Regions from separate parts of the Homo sapiens genome. Here region 1 is linked to region 2. Evidence: promoter capture Hi-C in human tissues and cell types (Jung and others, 2019). All regions are on one chromosome and are shown on one strand. Each heading gives the region's core, a stretch centred on a gene start or on the middle of the fragment in contact. The rest is flanking DNA. Distances are from core to core; before and after follow the strand shown.

Region 1 (5,191 bases), core at 1,356-3,855, 290 kb after region 2:
GTGCTGGGAAGGCGGAGTGTTGGGTGTATGGTGGGCACGCGGGTTTCTGTTCCGGTATTGGCATTATTTCTGTGTATGTTTCTCCAAGTCGGACTCTTGTTCAGCTTGCAGGTTGCCGTGTGGTTGCGTGGGTAGTGTTTCCTCATCCCAGGAAGTCAACTTGGTGGGGCACAAGCGTTGTCATTCCTGGGGAAGAGACTCCCGGCTGCTGGCTGGCTGCAGACTCGGTCCTGGAGGCAGACCTGCTGGTTGCCTGGGCATTTGGTGTTTATTTTCCTTGAGGATGACTTTTGCTGTCGTTCTTCCATTACAGTCTTCAAGGGCCAGAGGTGGACAGTGTAGCCCCCAGGTGGCACACAGCCAGGTGAGGGGACGCGGGGACCCATTCGCACCCGCAGGCAGCACAGCAGGGCCTTTTCCTTGGTGGGCTGTGGTTGGCTCTTAGATCGTGTTGGCTGCACCAGGCGGTGTAGGTAAATGCTGGTGAAGCCTCCTGTTGGGGTGAGGTCAGCGACACCGCCCTTGCTCCTTCAATAGAGGAAGCCTGTGTTATGTACCTCAGCGTCCCCTGCGGCCCACAGGATGTGGTGATGTGGTGGCGGTGGCGGTGGAAGGGGAAGGGGAGGGTGCGACCACCCTGAGCTCTGCAGTGCGGGTCAGAGAGCAGCGGTGGGCCAGTGGGCAGAGGCCAGGCCATCTTCCCTGTGGGTGCTGGGTGAGTGCCAGTGGCCGGCACACGGGACAGTCAGTGCGTGGTGAAGATGCTGCCCTGGGCCCGGGTCTTGGTGGAGCGTCTGTGCCTGGAAGCCTCCTTGCTGTAAGAGTGCCACCATGTTCTCAAGGGAAGGGGCAGCGCTTTTCAGGAAGGAATGGTAGCCACGGAGTAGTCAGACAAAATTAGCCTTATAAGAACTGTGGGCCTATCTGTTAGGGAAAGAAAAGAAATGAGATCACCACTTAAAAATGTGTGACTATTTTAGCTACAAATCGGGTTTTTAAACTAAGCTGTAAAACTTCAAGTCATTTGGTGCAAAGGCTGTGTCTGAATGGTGGAGACCATGGGGCTCCCGGCCTGAACCCTGCCTTCCAGGCGCAGCGAGGGCCTGTGGGCTGCAAGTGGCTCGGGAGCGCTCTCTGGAGGGCCCTGGTACACACACCAGGCCAGACATGGGGTGAGGCGGTGGCACCCTGAGCCTTGTGGTTAAGAGTCCCAGCCCTGGGCTGGGCACACTGGAGAGGGCTATTCCAGTCAGCCTCCCACTAACTTCTTCAGGAGGAGGCTTGGGAGGGCTGGGGGGCCCGTGGCAGGCATGGGAGCCGTGTTGAGCGAGGAACAGGGGTCAAGCCCAATGGTAACCACATCGCGAGGACTGTTCTGAGGGTGGCGGGCAGGTACACAGGGCAGAGCCCATGGCGTGCCAGGCTGGCAGTTCCTGTAGAGCAGCCGTGTCACGAACACCGCCTGTGAACACACTCTTGTGTTTGGCACCTCATCCCCCGGGAGCCTGTTGTGGGTGGAGCAGTCTTGTGAGTGTGCAGACTTCGACCTGGTGCTGGGAGGGGGGCGACAGCAGACGATTGGTGGTTAGGCTGAGGGTCACCTCCCCACACTCTGTCTGTTAGAGACAGCACCGGCCACACCCTCCCTGCAGAGCACTTGGGCGAGGTGTGGACCCAGCTGGAAAGTGGGTGGTGGAGGGTCCGTTTATTGTTTTGAAGATGAATCTGCTTTTTTTTTTTCTTTTTGAGATGGACTGTCACTCTGTCGCCTAGGCTGGAGTGCAGTGGTGCGATCTCAGCTCACTACAACCTCTGCCTCCCAGGTTCAAGTGATTCTCCTGCCTCAGCCTCCCTAGTAGCTGGGATTACAGGCACACGCCACCACGCCTGACTAATTTTTGCATTTTTGGTAGAGACAGGGTTTTCACCATGTTGGCCAGGCAGGTCTCAAACTCCTGACCTCAGGTGATACGCCCACCTCGGCCTCCCAAAGTGCTGGGATTACAGGTGTGAGCCACCAAGCCTGGTCTGAATCTTCTTTTTTGTCTGAGAATTCAGAAGCAAATGGGGTTTCCTCCATTTATGGAGAAGCTGCAGGCCTGTCTTCTGTGCTTTCAAATAAAAACTGGTAATGTAGATCTTGTTTTAGAAGCCCCACAGAAGTAGCATTTCAGCCTCGGAGGATTAGGGTACAAAGGAAAGGCCTCATTCTGAAGTGCGAGGCAAGGGGTGAGGAGGGTTTCCCACAAGCCTGGCTGGGGCTGTGGTGGGGGCCGGTGCCCCTCTTCCCGGAACATATCCAGGTGGGTGCCCTGCAGGAAGCTCTGGGCTGCAGTCTCTCCTTTGGAGTTAATTTCCTTGCCCTGCACTGGAAGTGAATTGATTGCATACACAGCCCTTGCTATATATATATGCTTTCCTTGAAAGTATCAGCTGTGCAAAGAGTTCAGAAATGCACAGGAGAGAACAGAACAGAAAACTGCCCACCCTGCCCTGCCCCTTCCCCACAGCACATGGCTGTTGGTATCTCCGGACACTACGCCCACCTCCACACCCTGCACCCCACACCGGAGTCACCGCGTAAGCAGGTGCACCTTGCGCCAGTGCTTACCAGCCCTGCCCGCCTGGAGCTTACAGGCCGGCCAGTGCACAGGCAGATGAGGATAGCAGCATCCACTGACAACTTGGTATTTCACGGAATCTAAGGTGTCCTTCATTTTAAGATACATCATCATTTTGTGCCACCAAGAAATGCTGCCCATCAAACTATGCCACGCTGTTGATGTTAAGATGGTCTGCTTTCAAAGATGTTGAAGTGTGTACGGCACTGATGGGGGTGTATGTCTGGGCCTCAGTGGAGCTCACGGGGGTGGGGCGGCTATTTGAGAAAGTGGCAGGAGGAGAGGAGCTGTCTGCCCAGCTGGGGTGGAGTCGACGGCCTGAGGATGACTCGGGGTCCTCCCCGCATGGCTTATGGAGCAAGCCTGGACGTGCTCGGGTCTCAGCAGGTGGGGGAGTATCTGCCCAGAGCTTGCCCTGTCCCAGGCCCCTCCCGGCACCGCCACTGCGCTGCTAAGCCTGTCTCCAGCCCCAGGCCTGTGTCCTGGGAGCACGGGCCGGGGGCTGGGATGTGCTGGGCCCGTGTGGGATTCTCAGGGCCCCAGGATTGGACTTTTCCTGGACTGGTGGGTGTGATGTGGGTTGTCACTGCTTTCTCTGTTCCTTTCCCGGGCACTAGGGAGGTTGACTTGTGTTTTCAAATGGGGATGGGCCTAACACGCTGCTGCTTCTGGGAGATTTCCGTTCACTTCCCTGGCCCACTTTTAATGAGGTTGTGTTAATTGGGTGGGCTTTTTTCCTGTTGATTCATAGAACTTCTTTGAGTGATCAAGAGGACAGGGCGCCTCTCCTTTTGTGAGCAGCAGACGTGCCAAGCTGGGGCTCCTCTGTGTGGCGTTGGCATTTGAGACACACCACACGCTGCCCAGTGCCTTCGATTGGCATTTTTTTTTTTAAGACAGTCTCACTCTGTCACCCAGGCTGGAGTGCAGTGGCACGATCTCGGCTCACTGCAACCTCCACCTCCCGGGTTCAAGTGCTTCTCCTGCCTCAGCCTCCTGAGTTGCTGGGATTACAGGTGCACGCCACCATGCCCGGCTAATTTTTGTATTTTTAGTAGAGACAGCATTTCACTATGTTGGCCTGGCTGGTCTTGAACTCCTGACCTCGTGATCCACCCACCTCGGCCTCCCAAAGTGCTGGGATTACAGGTGTGAGCCACCGCGCCCAGCCGATTGGCAGTTTCTTGATGGCAACAGAAGTGGAGCCTATTTACATCTTTTTTTGGTCACGGAGTTTCCTCCTGTGAAGTGTCTGTAGAAGCTTTTTGCCTGTTTTTCTCCTGAGTCATCTTTTCCTAATTTATAGAAGATACATTTTTGAAAGACAATATACAGAAGGTATAAATATCTTCCATTCTGTGACTTTTCAATTTTTTTTGTTTGTGGATACACAGAAGTTTTTAAGATTTTGTGGCCAGATTGTCAATGTTATTAGCGTTTCAGAAATCTAAGCCGGGCGTGGTGGCTCACGCCTGTAATCCCAGCACTTTGGGAGGCCGAGGCGGGTGGATCACCTGAGGTCAGGAGTTTGAGACCAGCCTGGCTAACATGGTGAAACCCCCATCTCTACTAAAAATATAAAAACTAGCTGGGCGTGGTGGTGGGCGCCTGTAATCCCAGCTACTCAGGAGGCTGAGGCAGGAGAATTGCTTGAACCCAGGAGACGGAGGTTGCAGTGAGCTGACACAGTGCCACTGCACTCCATCCTCGGTGACAGATTAAGACTCCATCTCAAAACAAAACAAAAAACCAACAAAAAAATAAAAAACTCTTGCCCTGCCATGGAAACTACCTTGTAAACCTTTGACGTTTGTATTTCAGCCTATAACGCACCTGGACTTGGCTCTTACGGCTTGTGAATGAGGTGGAAGTCCGTATCATTTTTTTTTCTATGAGAATCTCTAATGGTCCCAGAGCCACTTCTTGGACACGCCATACTTCCTCTGCTGTTTGGCAGTGCCAGCTTTGCTGTGGTTTTGTTTCAGTACTTCCAGTCCGTTGGTCTCTGGTGAGCAGAGCAGTGCCCACCCTACACCCTCAGAGATGTCCATATTCTGATCTCTGGGTGTTTTGTTAACACAGTGAAGGGGAATCAAGGTTGAAGATGGAATTCGGGTTGCGAATCAGATGATCTTGAGATGGGAGATCAGCATAGACTGTTAGGGGAGCCCCATGTCATCACAAGGGTGTCTCAAGTGTGGGATGGGTGCAGAGGACAGAGCAAGACCGGGCCGACGGAAGAGAGCACAGAGCTGCAGACTGCTGGTTTTGCAGATGGAGGGAGGGGCCGTGAGCCAAGGAATGCAGATGCCCTCTAGAAGCTGGAAAGGCTTCTAGATTCTCTGGAGAGTCTCCAGAAAGCTGGGAGCTCTGCTGATGACCTTGATCTCAACTCAGGTGTTTGTCCGACTTCTGGTCTATGGAGCTGTTAATAAGTTTGTGGTGGTTGAAGTCACTAAGTTTGTTACAGCAGCAACAGGAAGCGAATCCAGTCTAGTTGTCTATTTGTGCAATACACAGGCAGGATCCTGATTCCTGTCGCTTGATAATGAGACTCGCTCTCTGGTAAA
Region 2 (5,396 bases), core at 2,331-4,830:
GGGAGGCACCTGAGGCCCCCCGCCTGCTACTTCCCTTTCTGCTGACCGAGCTCCCCGGACACTCTGAGGACCGGGAAGAGGCATCAGAACTCGGGCAGGTGTGGGAGAGGGGGCACAGCATCCCCCAGCAGCCCCAGGAAACAGGGTGGAGACAGATGGAGCCTAGGCTCCAATTCTGAGACTCCTCAGGGCACCTGCTGTGTGCCAGGCACCACACTGAGCCAGTGATGAGACAGTGGACAAGGTGGGAGACCGTGCCGATGGAAGCCAAGGGCGGACCAGTGTCAGGATGGCGTCTGGGTGCCTGCTGCCGACGGCCATGTGGCTCTTTCATAAGGAAGGGTCAGGGAAGGCTTCCTGAGCCAGGGATATTGGGGTGGAGACTCAAAGAAAGTGACAGAGCAAGCCTTGGAGACACAGGGGCAGAAGGTTCAGGCAGTGGGAACAGCGGGTGCAAGGGCCCTGGGGCAGCAGGTACAGCAGAAGCCAGCCTCGCTACAGCTGAGCAGGCACTGGCGTGGACGAGGCTACCACGGGTGGGATGTGGGGTGGGGAAGGATGTGGGGCATGGGTGGGGTGGGGTATGAGGCGGGGGTGGTGAGCTGGGTCCTGGTCACCCAATCACCCGGGCTTGTGCTCTGAGCAAGAAGGACATTGGGGAGCTCTTGGGGGTTCTGAGCGGGTGGGGGTAATCCAACAGGTTTAGAAGCAGCCCTGTGCTGCTGTGTTGTGACAGGCTGGGGCAGGGCTGGAGGGGAGGCTAGGGACCGGGGTGGGGAAGGGGGCTGTGGCAATCACTGGAGAACAGGGCAGTTGTGGACCAGGAGGGTGGCTCCGACATGACTTTAACACAGAGCTGTTAGGATGGGCACAGACTGGATCTGGCGTGAGATTGGGGTGGGATGTCACCACCTGCACAATGGTAGCAGCACCTGGAGAGCCATCAAAGGCTTCTGCCATCCAGGGGAGGACACGCAGGTGTCCAGGCAAACAGGTTGGTCCTCTGTGTATGACTCCTGAGCGCACCCAGGGGCTCTGCAGTGTCTGCAGATGTGGCTTGTGACCTCCCCTTACCCCCTGCCCAATGCTTTCTGGATGGAAGGGGAAAAATCAAGTTGCAAGGCCGTGAGAACTCAGGCCTGGATCCCGGATGGGGCCTCCCTGAGCTGGAGACCCATAGCAGCGGTGCTGCTATGCTCAGTTGAGACTGTGGCCCCCAGGCCCTTGTAGCAGCCAGGAATCAACAAGATCAAATGCAGGGAGGAGATGCGGAGGATGCACCCGGGGTGAGCCCCACTCAGCCCAGGCCCTGCTGGGGACCCCTGAGTGAGCCCCAGGCTAAGCTGTAAAACGGGAATAAGGCTGGGCGCAGTGGCTCACACCTGTGATCCCAGCACTTCGGGAGGTTGAGGCAGGTGGATCACCTGAGGTCAGGAGTTCAAGACCAGCCTGCCTAACATGGTGAAACCCCGTCTCTACTAAAAATACAAAAATTAGCTGGGCGTGGTGGCACGTGCCGATAATGCCAGCTACTCGGGAGGCTGAGGCAGGAGAATCGCTTGAACCCGGGAGGCAGAGGTTACAGTGAGCTGAGATCGCGCCACTGCACCCCAGCCTGGGCAACAGTGTGAGACTCGGACTCAAAAAAAAAAAAAAAAAAAGGAATAAACAGAGCTCACCTCATGGTACTGTTGTGAACGTTAAATGCGGTAAGGTGTACATACTCAGTAGCACGGGCCTGGAATTCAGTAGGGATGCAGGGTTTGCTTTAAAAGGTGCAAATATATGTTGGTGTACATACGTATAGGCACACAGAAATTGGGGAATTGATTTCTGCTTATCCGCTATCTTCTAAACACTTTTCAATGCTTTCCAAATATCCTTCACTAAGGAAGAATGTCTTTAATATTTAGAAAATAAAAGTGATTAAAACAATCATTCCCATCCCTGGAGGGCCACGGGTCCTAGTGGGTAGCCCCTTGAGGCCTGCCCCAGGGCTGGAAGCAGCTCCAGGCATCTGTCTCTGGGATTCACGATTCTCAGGGGCTTGGGGTAGCTATGCTCACTGAGAGATCCTGCAGAGATTGTAAAGTCAGGCCTAGGAAGCACCAGAACCCTGAGGCTGCTGAGCTCATGCCCTGGGTGTAGGAGGCACTCAGAACCCTCCTACCCCACCTCCTTCCCACAGTAGACTGCGGGGCGGGTTTGGAAGTGGCAGTGGTGGGGGGAGGGGGGTTGGGGTGTGGGACCTGGGACTGCATTTAGGTCTAGATGGGACTCTGTGGGGAGAGCCCAGAGTCCCTGCGGGGTTCCATACTCACCCCCATACAAGGCAAGCCAGGGAGTGAAGTGTGTGTGTGTGTGTGTGTGTGTGTTCTGGACGCAGAGCTGAATAGAACCTAAAGTTGGGGTCAAGGGCCAGTCTGTGGCCAAGATCAAGGGCCTAGCTTGAGGTTGGGGTGACAAGAACCTGGCCAAGCTTCTGATGATTTGTCCAGGGAATGACCTTGGCTGACTGTGCCAGAAGGGCTGTAGCCCCAGGTTTCTGATCCCCAGAGCCCCAAAGGCGTTCTCTGGGATGCTGGTGGCCATCTCCTTCTCAACCCTTCTCCCAGCGCCCTCGCTCGGGACCACTGAGGCGGTATCACTCCATTCTCCTGCAAGGACCCTTGAGCGTGCTGTGGGAGTGAGGCTGGCTTAGCCTCTGAGGACCACTGCAGCCTGTCCTGACCTCAGGCCCCAGGTTAGGGGGCAGCTGAGGAGGGGTCTCTGGGTCTTTCCGGGTGTGTGGCCGTTTTATTTCCGTGCCCTTGTTTTAAAACTGCACCTCTGTCCTCAGGAGCGTGGCCTTGGGCAGATGGAGAGCTGCGTGGCCGGTGCCGGAATGACTGTCAACGCCCCAGTGCGCCCGGATCACACCAGGCCTGAAGGCAGCGCCAGGCCCAGTCCAGGCAGCTTGCAGTTCCCGGGCCGCAGGGACGGGCGCCGGAGCCCCGCAGACGTTCGCCCAAGGGCGCTCCCGTATCCTCGTCTTTCACGGCCCGCCTGAGCGTCCAGGGCGGCTGCGGATGCGCGCACTTCCCCCGCCCGGATCCCGGAGGCTGCACCGTGCGGACGCGACTGCCGCGGGCAGGGCGCGCGCCGGGGGCGGGGTAGGGGGGCCCGGGGGCTCTCCCGGGCTTAGCGAGTCCGGCCGAGGCCGGGGCCCGGGGAGGGCGGAGGGCGGCGCTCCAGGTCCTTTCCCGACCCGGCCGCCGAGCTCCGTCCTCTGCGCCGCGGCGTCCGGCTCCCGCCGGGTGTCCCGCGCAGGGTCGACCGCCGGCAGCTCCGGAAGGAGGACGCGCGAGGGGCGAGGAGCTGCCGCCTCCCCTCCCCAGCGCTCGGGGTTCCCCACGCCCCGCCGGCCCCCACTGGGGACCCTCCCGGCCCCCGGACCCCAGCCCCGACCCCGGGAGCCCACCTGGCTGCCAGTGCGCGCGCGCGCGCGGCCGGCGCGCTGTCCCTTTAACGGCCCGCGGGCACCTCCCCCGCCGCCGCCCCGCCCCCGCCGCGGTGCGGCCGCCGGTGCTGGGCGAGGTCGGAGAAAGTCCATGGGAGCCGGAGCGCCGGGACGCCAAGCACTTCCTGCCGCGGGCGGCGCGCCGCAGCTGCCCAGGCCGGACCGGGCCGGGCGCCCGCAGGTACCGCCAACTTGGCGCGCGCGGCCGCCCCCGGGTTACGCCGCCGGGCGGGGTCGTCCCACGGGCCGGGCCCGCACTTCCCGCAAACTCCGCGGCCGCCCAACTTGGCGCGAGCCCCCTGCCGCAGTGCCGGCCGCGCGGGGCGGGTGCGGCCGAGTTCCGCGCCGGCCCGGGCGTGCGCGCGGGAACCGGCCTCGGGAGCCCGCGGAGGGGGGCCGGGCGGGGCCGGGGGGTCCCGGCGGAGGCGCCCGCGACCCCGGGCCGGGACGCCGCGCCGCGCGTTCGGGGAGACCCCGGCTCCGGGCGTCCCGGGGCGCTCCCCGCCGCCTGCTGGGTTTCCCTGGATTTCTGGGGACCCGCGCGGCCTCCCCAGGGACCCGACTGGCCGATCCAGCCCTCCGGGTGGGGAAGCCGGGGCAGGACTGGCCCGGGGCCAGGGCGGAGGTACCCACCCCTCCCGGCGCATCTGCGCAGCTGCCTGGCCCAGCCGGGCCCGCGCCTCGCCCTCCCGGTCCAGGTGGGCCCGTTCGTGGGTCGTCACCGCCTCCCGCGCCTCCCCCACTCGGGCCCCAGCCTGGGGAGAAACTGGGGTCCGGCCGCAGGGGGAGGGGGCTCTGCCTCTTGCCAGCTTCTGTGCCTCTGCGGAGCTGAGGTCGGGGGGCCCCAGCTCCTTCTCTAAGAAACTCAGCGGAGCCCGGGGCCCGCCGCGCACCCCGCACGGCCAGGGCGGACCGAGGCCTTCCGACGGAGTTTCCTGCTTCTCTTGCTGGGATCGTGTGGGGTCGGAGGTCAGAGGTCACCTCCCAGCCCCTCTGCCAGGCTCTGGGGGAAGTTTGGTCTTGGACTCTCGTCGTGGAGCCGCTTAAACCTGTGGGTCTGAAGGCCGCGAGGCCGGGTCCCTGGAGTTGGCCTCCCAGGCCGTTCCACTCCCTCCCCCAACCCCCGCGCGGGGCCTCCGGATTGGAGGTGTTTCACCCACGTGCTGGTGGGCCCGTCTCCCTGGGCCGCTGGGTGCCCTGAGCTGTGTTCTCTGCTGCGCGTTCCTTCCTGTGTGTGGCGGGGGTGCTGACCCGGGGGTGCCCAAGGCAGCCCGGACTCCCATCCCGTGGAGCTGCCTCCGGGAGCGCGTGCACCTTGGTGTTCCCGCCCGCCAGCGCGGCCGCACTCTCCTGCCAGAGTCCGTGTCCCTCCAGGTCGCCCCTTCTTCTCACCCACCCCTCTTTTCGTCTGGCAGGCTCCTGACCTCCTTCCCTCCTGTTCTCCAGTGGGACACTCAGCTCAGCATTCTGCAGGGTGTTTTAGCCTGTAGCACCCCCCAGCAGGGGCGCCTAGAGTTAGGTCAGGGTTCAGGCAGCCCCCGCCCCACCCGCCACCTCTCAGCCACCCACCCCTTCTTCTCCCGGCCACCGTTGGAGCACCCCTCTGGTCCTCTGTGGGGCCTTTCCCAGCCCCTCCCTTAAAGAGGCCTCTTGGCGTTTTCCCCTGGGGTCACTGTTGGGTGGTAGCTGGGCCAGAGTCCAAGGGGAGGAAATAAAAGGAGCTGCCACCCAAGGTGGTGGCCCCCTGTCCTTTCGGCAAAGCCACTTGGAATGGGCACAGAGAGTGGAACAAGATATCACTTGTCACTTCTTAGTGGCCAGGGATCCTTTCGCAGTGGTCACACCCAGGGCTCGATGGTGCTGGCCCTGGCCTGGCGGGAAGGCGGGGAGGAGCCAC

Evidence for each region. The method cuts DNA at HindIII sites, captures the fragments that hold promoters and counts their contacts. A contact is called where the count stands out against the background at its distance.
Region 1: a fragment that was not itself captured here is called in contact with the fragment with the promoter of NACC2 in region 2 in 1 of the 25 tissues and cell types used here (dorsolateral prefrontal cortex).

Annotation. Positions count from the first base shown.
Region 1 is chr9:135,801,040-135,806,230 of GRCh38, reverse strand. No RefSeq gene overlaps it. Among named protein-coding and RNA genes, the nearest start is that of KCNT1, 100 kb to the right of the region's middle. RefSeq lists an enhancer at 2,331-2,997. The HindIII fragment of the contact is 4,082 bases long and covers 565-4,646 here.
Region 2 is chr9:136,093,473-136,098,868 of GRCh38, reverse strand. It overlaps NACC2 (NACC family member 2), which reads left to right and starts at 3,580. Exons shown (of 6, transcript NM_144653.5): 1 at 3,580-3,680. RefSeq lists silencers at 3,118-3,217, 3,538-3,667 and an enhancer at 4,873-5,396. The HindIII fragment of the contact is 19,137 bases long and covers 1-5,396 here.